7 separate regions of the Homo sapiens genome follow, and all the other regions are linked to region 4. The links are contacts of gene promoters, found by promoter capture Hi-C in blood cells and fetal thymus (Javierre and others, 2016). All regions are on one chromosome and are shown on one strand. Each heading gives the region's core, a stretch centred on a gene start or on the middle of the fragment in contact. The rest is flanking DNA. Distances are from core to core; before and after follow the strand shown. Region 1 has its middle 3.7 kb from the start of CTSB. Region 2 overlaps DEFB134 (defensin beta 134). Region 3 has its middle 21 kb from the start of CTSB. Region 4 holds the start of BLK-AS1 (BLK antisense RNA 1). Region 5 overlaps CTSB (cathepsin B). Region 6 holds the start of DEFB136 (defensin beta 136). Region 7 overlaps LINC00529 (long intergenic non-protein coding RNA 529).

What was found. Contacts are between HindIII fragments. The CHiCAGO score rates a contact against its expected background, and 5 or more counts as called.
Region 1: a fragment that was not itself captured here is called in contact with the fragment with the promoter of BLK-AS1 in region 4 in 2 of 17 cell types (naive B cells and total B cells); the score reaches 6.4 in naive B cells.
Region 2: a fragment that was not itself captured here is called in contact with the fragment with the promoter of BLK-AS1 in region 4 in 10 of 17 cell types (M1 macrophages, activated CD4 T cells, monocytes and 7 more); the score reaches 9.3 in M1 macrophages.
Region 3: a contact is called between a fragment that was not itself captured here and the fragment with the promoter of BLK-AS1 in region 4, in 2 of 17 cell types (naive B cells and total B cells). The highest score is 7.7, in naive B cells.
Region 5: a fragment that was not itself captured here is called in contact with the fragment with the promoter of BLK-AS1 in region 4 in 1 of 17 cell types (total B cells); the score reaches 5.9 in total B cells.
Region 6: a contact is called between the fragment with the promoter of DEFB136 here and the fragment with the promoter of BLK-AS1 in region 4, in 16 of 17 cell types (non-activated CD4 T cells, activated CD4 T cells, naive CD4 T cells and 13 more). The highest score is 16.2, in non-activated CD4 T cells.
Region 7: a fragment that was not itself captured here is called in contact with the fragment with the promoter of BLK-AS1 in region 4 in 2 of 17 cell types (naive B cells and megakaryocytes); the score reaches 6.4 in naive B cells.

The regions. Positions count from the first base shown.
Region 1 is chr8:11,870,388-11,873,162 of GRCh38, reverse strand. No RefSeq gene overlaps it. Among named protein-coding and RNA genes, the nearest start is that of CTSB, 3.7 kb to the right of the region's middle. The HindIII fragment of the contact is 1,889 bases long and covers 527-2,415 here.
Region 2 is chr8:11,991,799-11,994,629 of GRCh38, reverse strand. DEFB134 (defensin beta 134) reads left to right here. Exons shown (of 3, transcript NM_001302695.2): 3 at 508-1,456. The coding sequence ends at 650. Among named protein-coding and RNA genes, the nearest start is that of DEFB134, 7.5 kb to the left of the region's middle. The HindIII fragment of the contact is 2,666 bases long and covers 157-2,822 here.
Region 3 is chr8:11,887,679-11,890,378 of GRCh38, reverse strand. No RefSeq gene overlaps it. Among named protein-coding and RNA genes, the nearest start is that of CTSB, 21 kb to the right of the region's middle. The HindIII fragment of the contact is 3,746 bases long and covers 1-2,700 here.
Region 4 is chr8:11,556,813-11,559,710 of GRCh38, reverse strand. BLK-AS1 (BLK antisense RNA 1) reads left to right here and starts at 1,446. Exons shown (of 5, transcript XR_948956.3): 1 at 1,446-1,821. It overlaps BLK (BLK proto-oncogene, Src family tyrosine kinase), which reads right to left. Exons shown (of 13, transcript NM_001715.3): 9 at 2,874-2,898; 10 at 1,673-1,749. RefSeq lists an enhancer at 987-1,276. The HindIII fragment of the contact is 8,296 bases long and covers 1-2,898 here.
Region 5 is chr8:11,853,760-11,856,459 of GRCh38, reverse strand. All of the region lies in intron 1 of CTSB (cathepsin B), which reads left to right. Among named protein-coding and RNA genes, the nearest start is that of CTSB, 13 kb to the left of the region's middle. The HindIII fragment of the contact is 1,044 bases long and covers 929-1,972 here.
Region 6 is chr8:11,973,181-11,975,914 of GRCh38, reverse strand. DEFB136 (defensin beta 136) reads left to right here and starts at 1,316. Exons shown (of 2, transcript NM_001033018.2): 1 at 1,316-1,370; 2 at 1,797-1,978. The coding sequence starts at 1,316. The coding sequence ends at 1,978. The HindIII fragment of the contact is 18,049 bases long and covers 1-2,734 here.
Region 7 is chr8:11,245,727-11,248,426 of GRCh38, reverse strand. LINC00529 (long intergenic non-protein coding RNA 529) reads left to right here. Exons shown (of 5, transcript NR_170283.1): 5 at 638-1,163. Among named protein-coding and RNA genes, the nearest start is that of LINC00529, 37 kb to the left of the region's middle. The HindIII fragment of the contact is 984 bases long and covers 831-1,814 here.

The sequences.
Region 1 (2,775 bases), core at 222-2,721, 310 kb before region 4:
GTACCTCAGAATGTGACTGTATTCAAGGTCTGGGTGTGGTGGCTCATGCCTGTAATCCCAGCATTTTGGGAGGGCAAGGCGGGCACACTGCTTGAGCCCAGGAATTTGAGTCCAACCTGGACAACATGGCAAGACCCAGTATCTGTAAAAATAAAATAAAAAACAACAGCCAGGCATGGTTGTATGCGTCTGTGATCCCAGGTAGTCCAGAGGCTGAGGTGGGAGGATTGCTTGAGCCCGGGAGGTGAAGGTTGCCGTGAGCCAAGATCCTGCCACTGCACTCCAGCCTGGGTGACAGAGCGAGACCCTGTCTCAAACTTTTTTTTTAATTAAATAAATGAAAAATAAAAATAAATAAAACTACAAGGGCAACTGAAACCCCAAGTGAGATAATACATTTGCTCTTCATGGAAGAGGACAAGTGAGTAAACCCTGCTCTTCTGTGGTGGGGAGGCCATAGTTAGAATTGAAGGGGCCCCACCAGAAACAGAAATGGTGGGAAGTGGTGGCCTCTGGAGGCAAAGCTTTGGGGGCTGTGGACATCTGCTGAGACCCTGGCTGCAGACATGGCTTCCCTTCCGAGGGAGTTCATGTGAAAGTCGAGGCCCCCACCGGTATTAGAGGAGCAGCCATCTCTTTTGCTCGCAGTTAAACAAGTGCTCTCGCAGTAGGATAAGCCACAAAGGAGACACTGTAGGAGAATAAAGAGGAATCCTTCTGGAAGCCAATAGAAAAAAAAAAAAAACAATGTGGTCAGCCCTCATAAGGCTAGAACCAGAAACTTAGTTCTCTGAAGCCAAGGCACTGTAATTTCCCTCCCTCTGATGACAGTCACACCACAGAAAGGGAGCTGTCGGGAGGAAGAAGAAGGAGCCCAGAGGCACGGCTCATACCTCCCTGCTGGAAGGAGGGGTAAAGGGCACGAAAGTCCTTTGAGAAGAGAGGAAGGAGAAATAGAAATGAATAAGACAGCACCCTACACCAACCAACTTAGAGTTTAGATAGGAATGGAGACATATTTCTGAAAATACTGGAAACAATCACAGCCAAATAAGAAATCCAGTTCATTTCAACACTGAATAGTTGGGCACTGTAGCGTATTCAAGGATAATTTTTAAAAATTAAAAAGTTAAATCAGGCTGGGCGAGGTGGCTCACACCTGTAATCCTAGCACTTTGAGAGGCGGAGACAGCAGGATCATTTGAGCTCAAGAGCTTGAGATCAGCCTGGGCAACATGGGAAAACACCGTCTCTACAAAAAATACAAAATTAGGCTGGGCCCTGTGGCTCACGCCTGTAATCCCAGCACTTTGGGGGGCCGAGGCAGGTGGATCACGAGGTCAGGAGTTCGAGACCAGCCTGGCCAACATGGTGAAACCCTGTCTCTACTAAAAATACAAAAATTAGGGGAGTGTGGTGGCGGGTGCCTGTAACCCCAGCTACTCAGGAGGCTGAGGCAGAATTGCTTGAACTCGGGAGGCGGAGGTTGCAGTGAGGCGATATCGCACCACTGCACTCCAGCCTGGGCGACAGAGCGAGACTCTGTCTCGGCAAAAAAAAAAAATTCATATTAGCCCCCAGAGAAACCCCACACCCTTTAGCTGTCACCTACCTAACCTCCCATGTGGATTTCACGGAATCATACAATACTGAGTCCTTTGGACCTGGCTGATTTTACTTAGTAAACGTTTTCAAGGTTTATCGATGTTGTAGCATGTGTGACTACTTCATTCCTTTTTACGACTGAATAAAACTCCATTTGGTGGATTTATGACAGTTTGTTTATTCGTGCAATGGTTTTTAATGGATGGACATTTGAGTTGTTTTCACCTTTTGGTTACTGTAAATAATGCTGCTATAAACATCTGGTGTAAGTTTATACATACGTTATTAACTTTTGTTTTAGAGTTGGGGTCTCACTATGTTCCCCAGGCTGGTCTTGAACTCCTAGGCTTAAGTAATCCACCCACCTCTGCCTCCCAAAGTGCTGGGATTACAGGCGTGAGCCCACTGTGCCCGGCGGATTTTTGTGAGGACGTATGTTTTCACCTCTTTCAGGTGTTAACTTAGGCCTCTTTTACGGATGTTCAACAAGCAAACAGCTTTTACACACGTGAGTCAAGGCCTCTCTGTAAGTTCTGAGAGCTGTTCCCCAGGCCCTGAACCCTGACCCCCAAATCTAGCAGGTTAAGCCAAAATTCTCCTCAACTTCAAGGCCTACTTCATTCATTATGCATCCACTCAACTCACATTTCTCTATCCTCTGCTATGGGCCAGACACCCTGCAATGAGCTGGGATGAAGCAGGGGAACACCGCAGGTAAAAATGCTTGCCTGGGTGGGGCTTAAGATCCAGTGAGGGCAGGAAGGAACATATACAAGTAAATATGCTGTATGTTCCTTTCTCCATGAAGCTTTCCTGGATGTTCCAGGAAGGGACGAATTCTACTCTGGTAGTAATATATTTCTTTTCTTGTCTTTTGAGGAGTCTTGCCCATGTTGGAGTGCAATGGCGTGATCTCGGCTCACTACAACCTCTGACTCCCTGGTTCAAGGGATCCTCCTGCCTCAGCGCTCGAGTAGCTGGGATTACAGGCCCGCAATGCCACACCCAGCTAATTTTTGTATTTTTAGTAGAGACGGGGTTTCACCATGTTGGCCAGGCTGGTCTTGAACTTCCAACGTCGTGATCCGCCTGCCTTGGCCTCCCAAAGTGCTGGGATTACAGGCGTGAGCCACTGCGCCTGGCCTATTTCTTTTTTTCTTTTCTTTTCTT
Region 2 (2,831 bases), core at 240-2,739, 430 kb before region 4:
AAATTATTACTTGTTTTAGTCAGCTTGGGCTGCGATAACAAAATTCCGCACACTGTGGCTTAGACAAACTTTATTTTCTCATAGTTCCAGAAGATGAGAAATCCAAGATCAAGGTGCTAGCTGATTCAATTTCTGATGAGAGCTTGCTTTCAAGCTTGTAGATGGCCATCTTTTTGCCGTGACCTTCACTAATAAGACCATCAATCCTATTGGATTAGCCTATCAATCTTATTGGATTAGGGTTCCACCATCATGACCTCATTTAACTTATATTACTTCCTGAAGGCCCTATCTCTAAAGACAGTCACATCAGGGGTGAGGGTTTCAGCATATGAATTTTGGGGTGACACAATTCAGCCCCTACCACTAATTAATTTTTTCAGTTACAGGATCAATTATCATAACCAAATCTCCTTGGTATCCGGTTGGATAAAAATTGAGGGACTAGCAATTTTATGGTCCAAAAAGGCCTGTAGTGAATTATCTTTCTATTCATTTTCCTTCCAGGTATAAATTCATTATCATCAGAAATGCACAAGAAATGCTATAAAAATGGCATCTGCAGACTTGAATGCTATGAGAGTGAAATGTTAGTTGCCTACTGTATGTTTCAGCTGGAGTGCTGTGTCAAAGGAAATCCTGCACCCTGACATAAGAAACCAATGAATGGCCACTATCCTGTAGGCCCTTGATTCTGCCATCTTTCACAAAACCAGGGAATTTAGATCAAACTGTGACACCATGATGTGTCCATGACTACTGGTTTTTAGCATTTTTATAGGCCAGCAGACTCTTGTGGTCTTAAATTTAAAGAGCTGAGCTGTAGCCTTCTTTAAAAGAGCTCGGTTTTTCACAAAAACAATGTAGAAGATATTTTCTCACCTCAACGTGATGTCCAGTGTGCTCATCAGCACCTGTTTCTCCCTCTAATCATAGAGGATATTCTTATTATTTAGAAAGGCTTCAAGGGAAACAACTTTTGACACCTAAGTCGTGTCCTACCTTCGCTTCAGCTTCGCATTTCCCATTTCTGTGAAATTCCCAACTTTAGAGAAGCAGATTTGCCATGGCCTTCTGACAACCTTGTACATCTCTCACATAAACCGCATAGGCAGGGCTTAACTACAGGCTGGCCCGAGTCTGCACTGAGTCTGACCCTGAAGTTCCTTTGGAACAGGAGAGGCCATCTTGTGATGGGCTGGAACAAGGTAATTTCTCATCCACCTCCCTAGTTTCAGTTGAGCAATGGAACTTCCCACCTGAGCCCCTAGGGTTCAGCTACAGGCTATAAGACTGCCGTCCTGTGGTTTAGTGTTGGTTCCTTAGCAGCAGAGTGATGCCACCTCTGCTGCCCGTCATCTGACTCCTCTGGATGGGTGTTATCCTGTGGCTTAAGAGCTAACACCATGCTGATCTTGCTTTGCTATATGTGTAACTAATAAACTGCCTAAATGCATTTGGACTCATGATTTTCTTTACCAATAAACTTTATGAAGGTGTAACAGGAAAACTTAGCAACTTCTGTCATGTTGCTTCTGACCCTACTGGCTACGCTGGTGAATTCTTGCTTGATTTTTCAACAACATTCACCCTTATGGATGCATGAATGTGTGAGTTCTGTATCTGCTGCTCACGATAAAGACTGGGTGGCAAAGGAGAGTAGATTCTGGCTATGGAGCAACTTTCATGATCTTCAGTGCTCGATATGGCTCAGGCTCTCTAGTGATGTGAGACTGAGAGTGTGGGGCTCTTGCCGCAAATAGCTGGTTGCTGATGTGGTACAAGGAAAAGGATACAGCGTCTTAGTTCTGGGGCTGACATGACAGTACTGCCTGCCCAACCACACATGGCTGCTGGGAAGGGATGAAAAGAGAACAGCAGGTGAAAAAGCATGAGGGGTTGTAAGGAGTTCTGTACTTCCAGCAAATGTCCAACCTTTGAGCAAATTCAGTGTTGGTGTCTTTGGAGAGGAAGGTACTAAAAATCCAGTAGAATGTGTCCTCTCTGAGGCCCAGACTCCCTATGTAGACTGTAAGGAGTTTGGTTAAAATTGAATGGGATCAGAGATGGCCTGGAATTGTAACTATGGTTACTAAGTGTGCAGAGTAAATGCATCCAGACATGGCTAGGAAAACTGTCAGACACTGAGGGAGACAGAGGGGTCCCTACTGGAAGAGCACCAAATCTTCTGAAACTTTGGCCTCATAACGTCCTGGACAGTCTTAGGCTTGCTTTTCATCTCACTCCTCCTAGTTGGGTGCAAGTTCTCTACACATACAGATAAAGAGAAACCTGAAAACAATCCAGCCTGCTGACAATCTGAAGAATGAGGTGTGATGACACTTTACAGACTAACTAGAAAGCTGATCCCCAAAGCCAGGGAGTGAATCTACGTTCTCTATGCTAGAAAGTACTCTCTGGAATCTGGCTAAGTCCTGCATGGACAGAACTTTCCACTGCTACATGATATCAAAATAAGGCTATTACATCAGGGCCAGGCAACCTCTATGCCTTAGACCCTGCTCTACTATTCGCACTAGCCAATATTAAACCTGCTTATCCCAACTCCCTGCTCCTTCCAACAGAAATTTGCTAATCCTGCACTGCCTTCACCTTACCCTTGACAAGCCATATACCCTGTCAGGAAATGAACTTTGTAACAACCAAGGTAGCTGCAAACTTTATTCTTTTGAGAGAAAGTGTGTATGTTATATGCACACCCTCCAGCTTTGCTGAAGGAACCTGAACAGATATTCACTAACTTTGGTTGGTCTCTGTACATTGACACTTCCAAAAGAAATCCAATTCCAAGATCCAAAGCTTTTTAAAAA
Region 3 (2,700 bases), core at 52-2,551, 330 kb before region 4:
TATTCAATCACTGCCCACCAGGTTCCTCCCACGACACATGGGAATTCTTGCAGTTACAATTCAAGATGAGATTTGGGTGGAGACACAGCCAAACCATGTGCAGTGGCACAATCGGCCCACTGCAACCTCTGCCATCCAGGTTCAAGCAATTCTCATGCCTCAGCCTCCTGAGTAGCTGGGATTACAGGCATGTGCCAGCACACCTGGCTGATTTTTGTATTTTTAGTAGAGACAAGGTTTCACCATGTTGGCCAGGCTGGTCTTGAACTCCTGACCTCAAGTGATCTGCCCACCTCAGCCTCCCAACATGCTGATGCCTGGCCCGATTTCTTCTTTTTCAATATAATGTGGAATTATCTGATATCTGGATCCAATTTAGTTGTTTATGGAACTGAAACTTCCATTTATTTTGTGGATTATTTCCAAAAACTGATTGGGACTTTGTGTCCGATTTCATTCGTTTCTGTGTGTCATCAAAAGCTGTATTTGTTATGGAGATTAATAATATGTTCTAATTCCCCAGAACTTAGCCATGTCTAACCCTGATATGGACAAGGTTCCATCACCTTTTATAAGACCTTTACAGTAAGTCTTCAATAAATATTTGTTGAATGAATGAGTAAATGACTGAATGGATGGGTGAATGGACACTTTCGCTGGCTTGGGTTTGGGCAGACAGTAGGAAGTGGGGGCCACTGTTTCACCAAAGGAATCACGCTGGAGAAAATCCCTGCATAGCATTGAGTTGTGCAACTATAAATCTATTCCCATAAATTCCAATCAATCCTGTAAACTTCAGAGCAAAAATGCCAGGCTGTGTTAGTTTGCTCAGGCTTCCGTAACAAAATACCACAGGCTGGGCAACTTAACAATAGGCGTTCGTTTTCTCACAGTTTTGGAGGTTAGAAGTCTGAGATCAAGGTGTTGGCATGGCTGGTTTCTCCTCAGGCTATGCCTTCTCCGTGTCCCCACATGTTGTTGGGTTTTTTTTTTTTTCTGTGTATGTGCAGCCTTCATGTCTCTCCCTCCTCCTATAAGGACACCAATCAGATTGAATTAGAGCCCACCCTAACAGCCTCGTTTAACTTAACTACCTCTTTAAAGACCGTGTCTCCAAAGACTGGGTGTGGTGGCTCACAATGTAATCCCAGCACTTTGGGAGGTGGGAGCGAAAAGATTGCTGGAGCCCAGGAGTTTGAGACCAGCAGGGCAACATAGTGAGGCTCTGTCTCTACAAACTGTTTAAAAAAACAGCTGGGTGTGGTGGCGCATGCCTGTAGTCCCAGCTACTCAGGAGGCTGAGGCAGGAGGATCGCTTCAGCCAGGTAGAAGAGGCTACAGTGAGCTATGATCATGCCACTGCACTCCAGCCTGGGCAACACAGCAAGATCCTGTCTCTAAAACAAAACAAAAATCAAAACCTTATCTCCAAATATAGTCACATTCTAAGGTAGTTGGGCTTAGGACGTCACTGTGTGACTTTGAGGGAAGTCACTATTTAGACCATACCACAGACCAGGCCTCGTTTTTGCAGGCCTTCCTGTCCTTGCCTCTCACCATCAGACCCTGTCAGTCCCCAAGTCAGTTGACTGAGGAGCCTTCTATCAGCAGCCCCAGACCATTCTTATGGGGGTGTGAGGGGACAGTGCAGGTCCCTAGAGGATATGTCCATCTTCTTTACTCTGGGGATCAGCCCAGAGTCTGGGGGCCACAGTGGACCCCTCTGAACAGCTGCTCCCCAACCCACACACTCCCACTCCCTTCAATGGGGCACCTCCCTACACGCCCGGCCCTCCTGCACTGCTCCTCAATTCCCATCCCTAACCTTGTCTCCTCACACAACTCCAAACCCTGAACTGCCTCCCAATGGCCCTCAGATTTAGCAGTGGCTGTAGACAGATTCGTGCAGGCACAAACCCTGATAGTAGGAAGCTCCCGAGGTGCCACTCCGCCCGAGCCCACGAGCATAGCGCTCACCCTTCCGGCGGTCCTCCCTCCCTCGTTGCTGTTCCTCCTCTTCCCCTTCCTGATCCCTCCTTGGATGGCTGACCTTTCAGCTTAAAGTCTCTGGCTCACTCCTGGGACCTGTGGAGAACGTTTTGGTTTGGTTTGGTTTTGGCTGTTCTCGCTACGCTGGTGAACTCTCAGTCCCGTGGAACTGATGCCATCTGTGCACTGATTGATTGCAAATCCATGTCCCCAGCTTGGCTCTCTGTGAACTCCAGACTCAGCTCTGTTCAGTGTCTTGGCTCGAATGTTTAATAAGGCATCTCATTCTTGACATGCCCCAAACTGAGCTCCTGCTCTCCCCCATAAAACTTCCTCCTCTGAAGTCTTCCCCACCCACGTTTATAGCATTCCCATTGTTGCACAACCATCTCCACCATCCATCTCCAGAACTTTCTCATCCCCCAGCTGAAACGCTACACCTATTAAACACTAGCTCCCCCTTCCCCAGCTCTTGACAGCCCCCATTCTACTTCCTGGGCCTGGGCTTTTACTTTGATGGTGTGGGCGCGATTGGTGGCCTTTGAGCAGAGGAGTGTATGATTTGACTTGGGTTTTAAAGAAGCCCTCGGGCGCTGCGTTGAGACTGACATGCCAGGCGTGAGGGAGAAAGCAGGACGCAGGGGGTCATTAGGAGGAGCCCAGAGGCTCAGCCAAAAAAAAAAAAAAAAGAAGCTGGGCGCATTGGGTCAT
Region 4 (2,898 bases), core at 197-2,696:
CATCTGGCTGCAAAGTGGGGCCCGAGGGATTGTGATTGCAGGGTTCCTGTGGGGTTGGCCAGATCTGGCCTTGGAAGAAAGGTCTGGCGAGACTTTGCATGGCTTCCTATGGAGTAAGAAAAGAAGAGCCCAGAAGGGCCGGGTGTGTGTCTGCTCATGTGTGTGTAAGTTTGCGTGTTTGTGTGTGTGTTTGTGTGTGTGAGTTTGTGAGTTTGTGTAAATGTGTTTGTGTGAGTTTGTGTTTGAGTCTGAGTCTGTGTATTTGTGTGTCTGTGTGAGTTTGTGTGTGTGAGTCTGTGTGTCTGTGTGTGTGTCTGTCTGTGTGTGAGTTTGCGTGTCTGTGTGAGTCTGTGTATGTGTTTGTGTTTGTCCGTGTGTGTGTGAGTCTGTGTTTTTATGTGTGTGAGAGTGTGTGTGTGTACATGTGTGCTTAGAGAGCCATTGGCATGGTCAGCATGTGGTTAGAGGCTGCCCTTCTGGGAAGTTCTGATTTTCTGGCTCCTCACCCCCGATTCTGTGGCTACATCCAGGTATTAAACTCCGATGGCTTTTCACATCCTTTGCCCCTGGGTCACACGAGATTTCCCAAGGGGGTGTAGTGGGGATTGAATAGGAGACAGCGGAGGGTGAGAGAAGGAAGGGGAAAGGAAGCAGCAGCAGTGGGCAGGCTTATCACTGCCCTGGGGTTTGAAGCCGGTTACCAGCACTCATTTTCCAAAACCAGCCTGCCCAGATGGCTGTCTGCCCACCTCAGCGGAAAAAGGCGTTGTGGCATCAGTTCCTGCAGCGGCGCTACTGGGTAAGGCTGGGCGAGGGGCGAGGTGGGAGGGCTGATGTGGGCGGTGGGTGGGAGCGTTTCCTCTCGGTGGCAGCTGTATGTGTGTGTGTATGTGTACGCACGTGTGTGCCTCACAGGCTGACCACAGACCAAAACTTTTCTGCTGAGAGTTCCAGTTTTAACAGGGCCACCAGATGTGCTTCCTGCCAGCTAGAGCTCTCGGCTAAAACCCTCCTCTCCACTCTGCTCTTCACCCCATGGAGTCCAGAAAGTTCTGCATGTGAACGTGAGGGACACTGAGGACCAGTCCTGGGTAGCCAAGGAGGTCCAGCACTCGCAATTCCCTGGTGGCAGAAGGTGGGGCTGTCCTCCAGGGCTCAGAGAAGTCATGTCCCTGGCATCTGTGTGTAGCTCAGGCCTGCCCATCAGCCTGGGGTCGACGCCAGGGCTGTGCAAAGGCTGAGGGCCCCTGGGATGGGAAGTCCTACAGGAGATGTTTGTGGGCACCATCTAAGGAAGAGATGAGGTCACAACAGAACACACTTGCCTGCCGGGTTCAATGGAACTCTTGCTAACTCTGTGTGTTTCCCATGACATTCATTCGCCCTCTCTTCCTTCGGAACAGAATAGCCTCATTCCAACACAGCAGCCCGGGTCTAAGGCTCCATTCCCTGGGCTCCCTCACAGCTGCGTGGGGCAGGAGGCACAGTGGCCAGGGTTTGCAAGTCCAAGTGCAGTGGGTGACCTTGGGGATATCTGCCTAGAGGAAGGTGGCCTTCAGTACCCCCTGACTTCTCCTGCTGGCTGAGAGGATGGGGTGGTAAGGCACGAGCAGCCATTGTGGGCAGCAGGTGGCACATGCCGCCCTTTCTCTGCACCTGGTACTTCACCAACCTGCGCCGACATGTCAATCAGCCTTGGGAGTGACAATCTGCTCCCTTCATCTGTCTTCAGGAAATCCAGCAGGCATCCTAAGAAAAGAGAAGTTGCAAGTGCCCTTCTGCAAAGTGACCCGCCCCTGGTGGTGCCAGCCTCTCTCTGGTGTGAGTGGCTCCCCATGGGCGCGGGAAGTGGGAGTTTGCACCCTCAGATCTCTCGGTGCATCAGGAAGGATCTACCTACTGCTGCCGAGTGCCTTCCACTTTACAAAATGCCAGTCTCAGCACCCCGGGAGGCAGCCAATATACCAGCAGTTGCCCAGAAGTTAGGTTTCAGCCAGGTGCAGGGACCTGTCTGAAGTCACCCAGCCGGGAGCTGGGAGTGGGACCCCAGTTCTGACTCGAAGTTTCATGCCCCTTCTTGTCTTTCCCCCCGTGTTGGCCTCGCTCCCTTGATCCCTGCTGGCAGACACCCTCTGCCTCTGAGGACCAGGCATCAGCAAGAAAGCACCAGAATGGAGAGAACTGTCCCCCAGGTTTGGTGCAGGGGACAAATGCAGCTCCCCCTGGAATCAGAAAGCTGGGAGGGATGGATGCTTGCCCTAGGGGCAGGCTAGAGGCACCCCCAGCACAGCCTCCGACCGGGGGCCCCTTGGTGACAGTTGTTAGGGAGCTATATCAACATGGGCATGTTAGGATCCTATAGGAGCAGTGTGCGGTCAGGGTCATAGGAGGGTGAGAAAGTGGCATGAGAACTTGGCCACGCCGTGGACCTCAGAGGCCATCAAGCCCAACCTCTCTGGCCATCCTTGTAAAATATTCACACAGTTGTAAATGGTTGCATGACCAGGAGGCAGGAGACCTGGATCTAGTACTGTCCCTGCATGCCTGGCCTGGTGTTCGTCTGACTTTGCAATGCTCTGTCCCTCCCAGCAGGCATCAAAGAGTGCTAGGCACAGAAGATGCACTCCAGAAATGCTGTCTGAACTGCTCCTGGGCTGAGAACATGGCTCTGTCAGAACCACTTCACCCTCCTGTTTCTCACCCTCCCTCTGTCCCTCCCCCTCCCTCCATCCCTCCCTGTCCCCACACCGTGCCATGCCCTAGATCTGCAGGACCCCCTGGCCTGGTGAACCCACCGCAGCGGACCCTCCTCCTCCTGCTAAGCCCGGCCCTCCCGCCTCGCTCTGAGGATGCGGCTCTGCGGGGGGCACCACCTCTGGCCATGTACTCGGTGACAAT
Region 5 (2,700 bases), core at 201-2,700, 300 kb before region 4:
TTGTATTTAGTAGATACAGGGTTTCACCACCTTAGTCAGGCTGGTCTCTAACTCCTGACCTCAGGTGATCCAACCGCCTCGGCTACAGGCATGCGCCACCGTGCCCCACCAACTAATTGCTTTTTTAATGGTTGCTTCATATTCTATTTAACCACTTACCGTAATTTAACAGTTACTCTGTTATTGGATACTTGATTCATTTCCAGGACATGCAGATTTAGAAACTGGTGGGCGTTGCTGGTTGATGTCTCGGTGGTTGTGCCCACCCACCCCAGGCACTCATTATCATGCCTTCCGTTTCCCCACTTCCTAAGCCCTGCAAGAAGTGCCAAACTGTCCAGCCCTTGCCAATCTGATACATGCTGAATACCTCCTTGATTTTATCTGCACCTCCCTGAGGTTGAACTTATTTTACTTTATTTTATTTTATTTTTGAGGCAGAGTCTCACTGTCACCCAGGCAGGAATGCAGTGGTGAAATCTTGGCTCACTGCAATCTCCACCTCCTGGGTTCAAGTGAGTTGAAGCAATTCTCCTGTCTCAGCCTCCCAAGTAGCTGCGATTACAGGCACCTGCCACCACACCTGGGTAATTTTTGTATTTTTAGTGGAGACGGGGTTTCACCATGTTGGCCAGGCTGGTCTCAAACTCCTGACCTCAGGCGATCCACCTGCCTCAGCCTCCCAAAGTGCTGAGATTACAAGCTTGAGCCACCATGCCGGTTGAACTTATTTTTATCTGTGTTGGCCATTTGTAGTTTTTCTATTATGCTGGTTCCATTTTTCTGACTTTGAAGAGCCTTTTGTGGAAACGAAGCCTAAAGTATATGTGAGTACTGCTTTGTTTCGTCAGTTTTTGTTTTAAAGAGACTTTTCAGTGTAATGCAAGCATTTTCCCTTGAAGGCTGTGTTTCCTGTCAATCCTAAGCTTTCCTCCAGCATTACCTTTTTAAAAAACTTTATTTTCTATATTGATGGGGTCTCACAATGTTGTCCAGGCTGGTGTTGAACACCTGGCCTCAAGTGATCCACTTGCCTTGGCCTCCCAAAGTACTGGGATTATAGGCATCAGCCACCGCACCCAGCCTGTTTTTCAAAGGGCATTGATTTTTTTCATAAAACTTTTTAAATTAAGATCTGTGGGCCTGGTGCGGTGCCTCACGCCTGTCATCGCAGCACTTTGGGAGGCTGAGTCAGGTGGATCACGAGGTCAGGCGTTCGAGACCAGCCTGGCCAAAATGGTGAAACCCTGTCTTTACTAAAAATATGAAAATTAGCTGGGCATGATGGCACATGCCTGTAATCCCGCTGCTCGGGAAGCTGAGGTAGGAGAATAGCTTGAACCCAGGAGGCAGAGGTTGCAGTGAGCCGAGATCATGCCATTGCACTCCAGCCTGGGGGACAGAGTAAGACTCCGTCTCAAAAAAACAAAACAATTCTGTGTTGCATGTGGTACTTTTTGTGTGTGAGGAGTCCAGTGTGAAGATTCAGACTTCAGGCAGCCACTTGTACAAGCACTGTCCTGTTTCCTCTCTGGCCTCACCTAGGTAACGCTGATTCCTCCACGGAGGATGTGCTTCTGAGTGGTCCGTTGGGTGCTGTGCTGATGAGCATCACCCAGCATTTTACGACACATGTGCTGCCCCAGAGGGCTGGGCTCCCGTCAGAGCTCTTTTCCACTGGCTGGGTGCGGTGGCTCACACCTGTAATCCCAGCACTTTGGGAGGCTGAGGCCAGTGGATCACCTGAGGTCAGGAGTTCGAGACCAGCCTGGCTAACATGGTAAAACCCCATCTCTACTAAAAATACAGAAATTAGGTGCGTGTGGTGGCGCACACCTGTAATCCCAGCTACTTGGGAGGCTAAGAACCTGGGAGGTGGAGGCTGCAGTGAGCCAAGATTGTGCCACTGTACCCCAGACTGGGTGACATGGCCCACAGACCAAGACCCTGTCTCAAAAAAAAAAAAAAAGCTTTTTTCCAGAGCCATCTTGCTGTCCTCATATATTTATTCTCCTAGATGAATTGTTGCTTAAGCAACAATGAAGTTTAAATTGTTCTTCAGATAGAACCCCTAGGTGCCAGGCAGTTTGTTAAGCACTGACACCGCAGTCCTGTGACTTTCATGACGACCTGTGACCTGTGGGAGGTAGAACACCTCACCCACCCGTGGGAGCCCCTGGAGTGACTGACAGGAACCCCTGCCTCACCCAGCTCCCCGCGCCGCGGCTCTCCCCAGCCCTGGATGCAGGCGCCCAGGAGACATGTATTGCTTTTGTTGAGCTGCTCACTTAGGAGGGTGACTCAGAGTTCAAGCTGGAAAGCACTGGCTTGTGACTCATGAGCCAGTGCAAGATCAAACGGCTGGGGCATCGAGGTGAGAGTTTTCCTTCTCAGAAGCCTCATCTCCGCAGCCGGAAGCAGAGCCCTTGGCTGACTGGAAAAACCAGAGAGGCCCCGGGAGTGGGTGGATGGCCAGCCCAGCCCCACCTCTCAGCCTCAACCTCCACCAGCCCACACCGAGCTTGTTTGTCTGTGTCCTGTCGAAACTAGGACTCCTGGATTGTAACTTTTCTTACATTTCCCTGTCCCCTGGGTCCTCCACTTAGGGTGTAATCACACAGACAGGCTCTTAACTGTTTCATATCACTCACTTGGGAAAGTGTCTCAAGCTGTTCTACAAATCCATGCAAAGGCCGTTTA
Region 6 (2,734 bases), core at 67-2,566, 420 kb before region 4:
GGTGGGCACCTGTAGTCCCAGCTACTTCGGAGGCTGAGGCAGGAGAATCGTTCGAACCCAGGAGATGGAGGTTGCAGTAAGCCGAGTTTGGGCCATTGCACTCCAGCCTGGGTGATGAGCAAGACTGTCTCAAAAAACAATAATAATAATAATATTGAGTACCTACTGTATGGCAGTGTGCGTGCAAAGCATTTTATAAGCTGTATCTCATTTCATCCTGAAAAAAAACCACGCATAACCTTCCAATGCACTTTTTGAGGAGTTCTTGAGGCTGAGATGCTAAATAATGCATCTGAGGGTCTAGGCCTGCAAAGCAGAGTGTACCCAGGAATACCATGCTCCACTGACACACCACACACAGCCCTGTGGTTGTTGGCTGCCTGCGTAAAAGCCTGCCTTAAGGGTCAGAACAAAATCAAAGTTAGTGTCATCTTCACCCTCAGACATCCCTCATCACCCCAAGAGAGACAGGCCTAAGGGCCCTTCTCCAGGGCTGAGTCTCTGTCACTCCAGAGAAGCCCTGTCTGGCTCCACTCTGGACACTGTGCATCCAACCTTGAACACAGCACTGAACCGACTCTTCTAAGGGAGAGTTTCAACTCCTCAACTCCAAAAAAGAAATCTCTCCTAGAACCTTCAGAGTCCCCTCATCCTAGCCAACGTTTCATACCAGCCATTTGGAGAACAAAGTCCATCAGTGAACTTTTCCAGGACTTTTTTTTTTTTTTTTTTTTGCAGTATCTGCCTTCAGCCAGGTAAATAAGTCAGCTGCTAGACAAGGAAGCTGTCCCTTCTCCACTAGTTCTGAGCCCCTACCTTCTCTTGGTCAGGCCACTGGTTGACAATTTGAGAGACTCCGTGTGTCGGAACTGTCTTTCCAGGCTTAAATTCAGCCTGTGTTTCATAACACCCTTTCTCTGCGCTCCTGAGCTTTCAGTGGTGCTCCAGAGGAAAGGAGAGACAGAGCAGACATTTTCACTGCCATGTTTATATCAAAGTACATTTGAAGGCAGAGGGAAAGCGCTCAGGCCTAGGCATGGGGATCCTGGTCTTTTCTCCTATTCTGCTATCAGGAAACGTGACAGCCTTAGCTGAGTCTCTGGTTTTCCCGCGGTTTGTAGAAAAGGAGGTAGCACTGAAAGGCCAGGGCCTTTTCTTCCTCGAATTCTGCAGAACCCTGTGATCTCCTCAGTCTGCCCCTCCAGGAAGAGTGAGGCCAGGGTCCAGCCCCACCCATCGCAGCCCAGCCCAGCTCTATAAAGGAGCCTCCCAGGCAGACACCACTGGGAGTTCCAACTCTGTGCCCTCTTCGGCCATGAACCTCTGTCTTTCTGCATTACTCTTTTTCCTGGTGATCTTACTGCCTTCAGGTAAGACAGTGGGCGTGAGTCTGAACATAAAAGTGGGTGTTCCCAAAGATTGAGATGCTTAAAAAACCCTCTAACTATAAGCCCAGCAACAGGACACCAATATCAAATGGGCCACCATGTTAGGGGCATGGTGAGCGGACCCCAGCTCCTGCCCTGCTCTGCTGTTGCTGCAGCTGGAAGATCTGCCAGTGCACCGGGGACGGGGGTGGATGTCATTGTGCACACAGATCGTGCAGCCACCCAGATTCCTATCTCCCCTCCAATGCCTCTGGCTACCCTGAGCTTTATCTGCCTTGCTGAGTTGTGATAAGAGGTGAGGTAAATCACAACTAACAAGCCATCAACCAGGAGGTGATGGCAAGCCTAGGATTTCTCCCAGCCTCATTAAGATTGATTTTTCTTTTCTGTGGTCTCTCCCCGCTTCAGGAAAAGGTATGTTTGGGAATGATGGAGTCAAAGTTCGCACCTGCACTAGCCAGAAAGCCGTATGTTTCTTCGGGTGTCCGCCAGGATACAGGTGGATTGCGTTCTGCCACAATATTCTGTCTTGCTGTAAAAATATGACACGTTTTCAACCCCCGCAAGCCAAAGATCCATGGGTTCATTAAAAGGATATGTGAATGGCTCAAAGTACTACACTCCTAATCTGTGTGTCAGGATCTTAGAGCTCGTAAGTGAGCCATGGGCAGAAATGAGGACCACATTCTGACAATTTACTGGCAAAATTCCAGAAACATTTTGTAAAGGCAGCACTGCCATGAAATGCATCCCCTGTTATTTTTCCTACCCTCCCATCTCCAATCACTCATTCCTCTTTCAAATTCAAATTCAGGCCAGGCGCAGTGGCTCACGCCTGCCCGCCTGTAATCCCAACACTTTGGGAGGCTAAGGTGAGCAGATCACTTGAGGTCAGGAGTTTGTGACCAGCCTGGCCAACATGGTGAAACCTCATCTCTACTAAAAATACAAAAATCTTCCGGGTGTGGTGGGTGCATGTAATCCTAGCTACTCAGGAGGCTGAGGCAGGAGAATTGCTTGAACCCGGGAGACGGAGGTTGCATTGAAAAGAGATCACGACACTGCACTCCAGCCTGGACAACAGAGTGAGATTCCGTCTCAAAAAATAATAATAAAAATTCAAATTCTATTGATTAATACAAGTTCACAGGCCCAAGCAATGATATATTCTGGCCATAGAAACAAAAGCTAACCACACACCAGTCACACACTTGAGTGGTTTACATCTATTAGGGAAATTACTCCACACAATAAAATCTACAATTTCTCCCATTTGGCAGATGAAGAATATTTTCCAAGGTCACACGACAAGAGTTAGTCCCAGGTTTAAATCCACAGAGTCTGCA
Region 7 (2,700 bases), core at 73-2,572, 310 kb after region 4:
AAATAAAAGGTCTCCAGGGGTGCAGGAGTGGAAGAGACAGGGCTTGGAGGGCTTAGGAGTCCAGGGGCAGTGTGTATGCTCAGGAGAGCAGCCAATCCCATCTGCCCACAACTAGGATTCTTCTCAGCGCATCACTGGGGGCTCTCCCAGGGCAGTCGGCCTTCCTTTCTTGGATGTGCAAAGCGACTTAGTTGGGATTTAAGACAAAAGTAGACCTAGAACAGTTGACACCTGGAGTGGAGAGTTTTTAACACCCTCCCCATACATCAAAATTATTTTTATAGTGATAATCATGCAATCATTAGCAATCATTATTTTCTTGAGTCAGTCTGTAGTTTCTTCATTTTTAAAAAATTGACCAGTTGAACAATCTCTAGTTTCAAAACACAATTGAAAGAAAGAGTACTTTTTCATTTGAATATTATTCAAATTTAGGAACGCATCACATATGAACTAAATTTGCAGTTTGCCAGTAAAAAATTGACCTCATGATTCTCTGCCTGTTTTGGTTTTAAAGTTTAAATACAAATTTAAAATTTTTTATCACATAAAATGACAAAAGTAAGATAACCCAAGGTCTACTCCTTTCATCATTACAATCACAGTTATTATGGTTTGTTTTGAATTTACTATTTAGATGTAGGGGTTGGAGACAGTTGTCGCTCAAGGTGCAAACTCCGGGCTGGCGCTGTGTGTGAACAGATAACAACAAAATGTATGTGGCTGAGTCCACTAGGAAGACGCTTCTGTACCACATGGAGTTCTCTGAATTAACTTCCAGATATATTAAAATTATTAATGGTAAGTAAGAAATGTATCAAATTGAAGCTTACATACATATTGCTAAGATGCCATCATGTCTGCAGAGATTATTTGGAACTTTGAACAACAAAAGATTTTTTTTTTTTTTTGCAGAACAGTATTTTATCACTGATGTTATTTAGAGTTGCTAGCACTTGGTGATATCACAAGCGAACTGACTTTTAGTCAGCTGTGTTATTGTGTTTAAATTCTCTACAAACATCCCTCATTGCCTGCCTCAGGGGCAGGCGGCCCCTGCAGCTCTGTCTTGTGTATGCAGCTGATTTAAAGCCATGGCAACATCACAGTTAACACTATCTATGCACCTGTAAGAAGTGTTTAATTAAAACTAACAGTCTTGAAGTTGAGCGTCTTTATTTTAGGTGTAGGACCTCTCAGGGGTGAAGAGGAAAGCAAATGGAGAGTCTGCCAAGTCTTTTTGCTGACACCAGTGCTTAGGATCTTGAGAGCATGTTTTACAAATTGGGTGTTTGGGGCAGGGGGAGTCTGGACAACAGTTTTTCCAAGTTTCAGGCTAGTGTTTGGCACCCTCTAGTGGAAAATTTGAAAAGAGAATGATCCGATACTGTATAAAAAATGAATAGTTTATCATATAGCTTATTCATCCTTTATTAAGTACCATGCACTGAGCTAAGTCCTTTGTGTGCAATATCTAATCCTTACAACTACCTATACATTAGGAATATGAGGTCAGCGTTACTAATTATAGAATAAGCTCAGAGAGGTCAAGTAAATTGACCACAGCCACACAGCAAGGGGTGGAGCTGCTTGTCTTTCCTCTCTCCAGAGACATATGGAGTGAGCATACTTGGCATATGTAGCACAATATTTCAAGCTCCTGACCCCCATGGACACACTACCAGCTCCACACCTCAGAGCCTGGGGGCTCGAGGAGTGCCCACCCTGAACCATACTTCCAGAATTATAGTTACTTGCACAATTCTGATTGTAAGATCTAAAAGTAATTTTTTTTTTATTTTTCCCTTAAAGCTTGTGATTTGCCCTCAAAAGTAAATGCCTTGGCTTGGTTTGCCATATTTCCTTCTTAGATTCATGTTCCTTTGTGTCTTATGTTCTGGTCAGGTCACGGCAATGGCCTGCGATAGTAACTCCCAGACTTTAAATCTCATTGGCAATCTCCTTTACCTGTGACACCCCAGAGATCTTAGAATCGAAGTGAGCTCGTTCTGGGAGTGCTTTGGGAGTTATCCAATTTAGTGGTTTGTCATCATGGATCTCTTGAAAATCTTTGAAGGAAGTTTTGGTTGCCATGATGATTGGAGGGCACTAGTGATGTTTAGTCGGGAGGACACTGGATATCCTGCAATGCTCAGGACAGGTCACACAAGGAGAAATTGACCCAGGACTGGTAAGACTTTCCATCATCCTACCGGACATGCTGAGACAGAAGGCAGGCTTCAACTTGTGGTGGGATTTCAAGTTCAGAGACACATTTGCTGTGATGTGTCATTATTACTGCCACATCCCATGTCGTAACAGCAGCCCCTTTGGGGTAAGCAACGTGTGTTCATCCATTCTCACACTGCTATAAAGAACTACCTGAGACTGGTAATTTACGAAGAAAACAGGTTTAATTGACTCACAGTTCTGCAGACTTAACAGGAAGCGTGGGTAGGAGGCCTCAGGAAACTTATAATCATGGTGGAAGGTGAAGGGGAAGCAAACAAGTCTTTTAAACCATCAGATCTTGTGAGAACTCACTATGGTGAGAACAGCAAGGGGGAAACCCACCCCCACGATCCAATCACCTCCCATCAGGTTCCTACCCAAACATGTGGGGATTACAATTTGACATGAGACTTAGTGGGGATACAGAGCCAAACCATATCACAAGGCCCAAGTGTCAAAGCATGAGAA